2 separate regions of the Homo sapiens genome follow, and region 2 is linked to region 1. Evidence: promoter capture Hi-C in 16 types of primary human blood cells and fetal thymus (Javierre and others, 2016). All regions are on one chromosome and are shown on one strand. The core of a region is centred on a gene start or on the middle of the fragment in contact, and the rest is flanking DNA. Distances in the headings are between cores, read along the strand shown. Region 1 holds the start of VPS45 (vacuolar protein sorting 45 homolog). Region 2 overlaps RPRD2 (regulation of nuclear pre-mRNA domain containing 2).

The links. The method cuts DNA at HindIII sites, captures the fragments that hold promoters and counts their contacts. A CHiCAGO score of 5 or more calls a contact.
Region 2: a fragment that was not itself captured here is called in contact with the fragment with the promoter of VPS45 in region 1 in 2 of 17 cell types (M2 macrophages and fetal thymus); the score reaches 5.8 in M2 macrophages.

Annotation. Positions count from the first base shown.
Region 1 is chr1:150,066,480-150,069,179 of GRCh38, reverse strand. It overlaps VPS45 (vacuolar protein sorting 45 homolog), which reads right to left and starts at 1,404. Exons shown (of 15, transcript NM_007259.5): 1 at 1,230-1,404; 2 at 416-550. The coding sequence starts at 1,322. It also overlaps a transcript of OTUD7B not described here. RefSeq lists an enhancer at 1,448-1,777 and a silencer at 1,988-2,227. The HindIII fragment of the contact is 1,692 bases long and covers 1,086-2,700 here.
Region 2 is chr1:150,372,181-150,374,880 of GRCh38, reverse strand. All of the region lies in intron 1 of RPRD2 (regulation of nuclear pre-mRNA domain containing 2), which reads right to left. Among named protein-coding and RNA genes, the nearest start is that of RPRD2, 9.4 kb to the right of the region's middle. The HindIII fragment of the contact is 1,417 bases long and covers 636-2,052 here.

The DNA.
Region 1 (2,700 bases), core at 155-2,654:
AATCATGGAAGTAACATCAAGCCACCACAGGTTCCTGAGCATAAATGTGAATAAAGTGGCAAAGATTCAAGACACTCATAGCTGTATATAAAATTAAGTGTTGATGGTGTTCAATGTGACAGATACGGAGGTTAATCCAGGAATAAAGTAATGTGGGTCTCCGTTAAGAGTAGTTCATTAGTGGCAATGGGAATGGCTGTGAACCTAAAAAACATCTTGAAGGAAGAACTGGCTGTAAGGGGTCAACTGAAATATGGAAACAAAACAAGAAAAATGAAGGTTATAACACTGATGAACCAGGATAATTATGATGCCACAAATTATGATAATACAAATTTATTTTGCCTTCTTAATGCTTTCAGATCAGAGTGTTCTGCATCTGCCTGGGCAGATGGAAGCTCAGTTTATGCAGTACCTTTGTAGGTCGAAGAAAACAAATTGCCTTCAGGTGTTTCATGATCTCTCGATTTTGAGAATCAATGCGTTCAAAGAGGTACACTTCCTTCTGTAGAATCTCCGATTGTGTGTATACCATACTCACTATGCCAGTCTGTAAAAACAAAAGATTAACTAAAAGTATGCTAGTCTAGAATAATAAAAACAAGTAGCACATCTAACCCTCTTTTTTCATTAATACTTAGCTGGATAACTTAAATAGTAATATACGGAAAACATTTACTGAACATCCAAACAGGTAGGTAACATACGAGAATGAAAAATACGCTCTATCCTTTCAGCTGAAGCTTCAAGATTAAAAACAAAAAACATGGTCTCTTTGAACAGGAACAATCCATAAGTTTCCAAAAATATTTTTTTCTATCACCTTAAAGAGTTTTGTTTTCTGGTCTGTGGCCAACAAATAATCTGTCATTTCAGCTTGAGCTCCAACAGCTTTACTTTAAAAACACAATGTTGAGTGGAAACAGTAGGCCCATCCCAAAGCCTTCCAAGTGCTCTGACATATTAATGATTTCTTGGCGGGGACATTTAGAAAAGGATTTCTGATTCCAATAAATTGTTCCGGGTAGAAGTAGTCTCTAGGCAGTGGCTGGAGCCATGTAGACTGAAAACCCACCGGGCAAGCTTTATATAAACAACTTTTCAATTCCACACAAACCGACCCTCATTTTCGTATGTTTAATTAAATGCTAAGTCCTACAGTGGAATGGGACGAGCAATTGTAAGGTTGAGAGGGTTCCTTCACAAATGCTGAGCAAAAGCAAACTCACCGTCTCTTTATCCATGAGAAGTACTTTCATACCAGGCCCGCTGTCCTCTATCATTTTGGAAATGTACTGCTTCACAGCAAAAACCACGTTCATGGCGGCGAATTGACAAGTACCCTACAGCCCTTCCCGCCCCCTTTTCTGGCTAAATTAACCCCCAGTCTGTTGGCCGGGTCTCAGCTGCTTCCTCCCAGCCGGGATTCGGCTTCCGGGAGTCCGGGCAGCCACGGTGCTGGGAGTTGTAGTTCCGCTGGAGTGTACAGGGGACCAAGCCTACCCCGGGGATGGAAAAATCCGGCTGAGACGGCCTGGGCCGCTGCCACGCGCGGGCGTTATTCTCCACCCACCTGCGGCCTGAAGATGCCTGAGGCCCGGACTCTCAGACCCCTATTGCCCTTTGGTGCTGGAGGCCCAGCGGCAGCCTGAAGCCCAAGAGAGTGGAGCCTCGCGAAATGAGGAACCTGGCACAAGGTTTGCTTGGAAGCAGGAACGACGGAGTGTGGCTACGTGCCCTATTTGCCATTAACGCTTTCTTGCATGGCAGTGAGAGATGAGGGCAAGGGAGGTGGCATAATGCTCCCGGCCGCTTGGGACTCGGAGAGACGGCATTTAATAAATCACACGCGGTATTTGCGAAACAGTGGTCGAGATTCGTCTTCCCGGGTTCATTGCGTCATTAATAGGCGGGAACAGTGCCCCTGTGTTGAGGCTGCAGAGGCCCTAATTGGTTTTCCCAAGACAGAGGGGCATATGAGATTGAACAAATATTTGTTGAATGAATGAACAAAGGGAACGCCTTTTAGGGATGTTTCTGGGGGAAAGGCCTGAGGTTCTCCAGGAGGGTCTGCAGCTAGGGTCGGCCGTGGGGGCTCGCAGCCCGCGGGACCACCGGACCTGCAAGCGTCCCCCTGCCCCGCCCCCGCCTCGGCGCTCTGAGCAATTGGACTCTGCCAGCTCTAACTCCGGCGGGACTCTGAAACTCAGGCAAGAGCCGAGGTGACTGGGTCCTTTGAAATGGGTAGGGGACACGTATCCGGTAGAACTAAAACTAGCGTGGGGATTTGAAGCCAAAACTCTCAAGTTTTTACTGAATCTTAAAACCATCAACTTCCAAATGTCTGCATTTGTCTTTACACCACACAGGTCTCCCCTCTATCATGGCATTTGTCGAAAAGGAGGGTAGATGTTTGTTTTTCGCACCTTTACTTTGGGGAATTGTAAAATCAGGAAGATAATAAGAAACAATTGTTAGAAATCAGTAACTAAAAATGCTTATGAATATTTCCACCAAAATAATGACCAGTGTTTGTGAGGTCAATAGATTCAGGATTACCAAATAAATTCTTTCATTATATTTTAAGAAGTACACAGTTAAAATAGACCAATAGCACTTTAACATTAATCAGCTTAAGATTATGCAATATTATATATAATTCTCAAATCCCTTAAGGGAGATCAGAAACTACTGAAATAT
Region 2 (2,700 bases), core at 95-2,594, 310 kb before region 1:
ATTTATTACTTCTTTGGGGGGCTGAGACAAAGTTTACCTTGAACCTCAAAAAGAACCTAAGCCAATAACACACTAGACTAAGTAGAAAGAGTCATCTAAAATACTAGAATGCCCCAACAGCCTTCTGAGAATAGAGAATAAACAAACTTAAAAGTGCTTTTCCTACATTCTCATTCAACAATCAACAAAGACTTCTTTGACCAAATGTATGAGAGTTCTCCCCACACACACCAAGCAAGCAATTCTGCAATGAACACCAGCTAGGTGCCCTCCAATTCAATTCTGACACTGGAAGAGAGCATCAGATCCCACAGACTGAGTGCTCAGTCTCACAAGACTGCCCCCCACTTCCCATGCCAATCACAAATCTCAGGTTAACATTTGCTCTGACCCAACCACCATAAATCGGGGCTCACACAACCCCCTTCTTGGGTTCCATTAATTTGCTTGAGCAGCTCACAGAACTCAGGGAAACACGTTTACTGGTTAATTATAAAGGACATAACAAAGGACACCAATGAACACCAGATGAAGAGATGGAGGGGGCAAGGTAGGGCTAAGAGTGCAGAGCTTCTAGGTTCTTTCTGGGCATGCCAACCTCCAGGAACCTCCATATGTTTTGCTGTCTAGAAGCTTCCCAAAACCAGTCCTTTTGGATTTTTATGGAAGTTTCGTTATGAAGGCATAATTAATTAAACCACTGGCCACTGGTGTTCAGTTTACCCCTTCAGCTCTTCTCCCTTCCCCAGAGGTTAGATGGTAGGGCGGAAAGTCACAACCTCTAGTCCTGCCTTATTCTTTCCAGTGACCAGCCCCCATCCTTAGGCTACCCAGGGGATGCCAACCATCAGTCAACTCATTAGCATACAAAATGACACTTATCACCTTGAAGACCCAAGGATTTTTGAAGTAGTATGCCAGGAAATGGGACAGAGACCAAATAGAGATTTCATAATACCATAGCCTTCTCTCTGGACCTCTTCTATATCTGTACTTGCTGCTCTATCTTACTAGACTTACTTCCCTATCTACACTCTCTCTCTAGTTGATCTCTTCCAGCTTCCTGGCTCTAAAAACAATCCATATACTAGACACGCTATGGTGATTGCTGAACAACTCTATGAATATACTAAAACAATTGAATTGTACACTTTAAATGAGTATATTTTTTGTGAATTATATCTTTAAAAAAGATTTCTTAAAATAGACATCCCAAACCTAACACATCCAAAACTAAATTTCTCATCTTCTTCCCAAAATCTGCTCCACTCACAGCCTTCCCCATATCAATAAATGTCAACTCTTATCTTTCTAGTTGCTCAAGCTAAAAAAAAAAAAAAAAAAAAAGTCATTCTTGATTATTCTCCTCCTCTCTCACCCCACATTTAATCCACCTAGAAATCTGGCTGGACCTACTTTCAAAATAGATCTAGAATTAAATTACTTATCACTTCCGCTGGCCATAACCTGGTCCAAGCCATCAATATTTTACACTGGATTACAATAGCCATCTAATTGGTATCCCTGTTCCAGCAGAAACAAGAATAACCTTTTAAAAACAAACGAGTGCCAGGCGTGGTGGCTCACGCCTGTAATCCCAGCACTTTGGGAGGCTGAGGCGGGCGGATCACTTGAGGTCAGGAGTTCGAGACCAGCGTGACCAATATGATGAAACCCTGTCTCTACTAAAAATACAAAAATTAGCTGGGCATGGTGGCATGCACCTGTAATCCCAGCTACTCAGGAGGCTGAGACAGGAGAATCGCTTGAACCCGGGAGGCAGAGGTTGCAGTGAGCCGAGATGGTGCCATTGCACTCCAGCCTGAGCAACAGAGCAAAATTCCGTCTCAAAAAAAAAAGAAAAAAAAAGAGTTCATCTCCTTTTGCTTAAATGGCTCACCATCTCACTCTGAATAAAAACCAAAGTCCTTACAATGCCTATAAAACCCTTGGTGAATCCCATTTCACCCCTCCCCAACACCACCCACCATAATCTCTTTGAACTCATCCACTAATCTTCATTTTAACAACTCCTTTCCAGTCACAGAAGCTTTCTTGCTGCTCCCTAAACTCACCAGGCACACTCTAACCTCAGGACTTTTGTTTTTTCTGTTCACTTAGTCTTGAACATGCCCACCTCATACCCTCATGTCTATATTGCTTAATATCATACCTCCTTACTCAGATGTCACCTTCTCAGTGAGGCCTTCCCTTACCATTTAATGTAAAACTGCAAACCCCTCTGTTTCCCCCTTCCCTGCTTTCTATTTCTCTAGAGCATTTATCGCCTTCTATTATGTTTAATATTTTACTTATCTGTTTGCTGTCTGTCTCCCCTTACTAGAGTATATGCTGTCTTTGTGTGTGTGTGTGTCTGTGTGTGTGTGTGTGTTTCTTTTTTCAGACGGAGTCTCACTCTGTTGCCCAGGCTGGCATGATCATGGCTCACTGCAACCTCTGCCTCCCGGGTTCAAGCAATTCTCCTGCCTCAGCCTCCCAAGTAGCTGGGACCACAGGTGTGCACCACCAAGCCCGGCTAAATTTTAAGCTCTGTGAAGGCAAAAAATTTTGTTCATTTTGTTCTCCTGCTGTATCCCCTGTGCCTAAACAATGCCTGGCACAGTAGGTGTTTGATAAATATTGAAAAAACTGAATGGAAACTAGGGATTTATAAACAAATTTCATCTTAGAGCTCAAAGT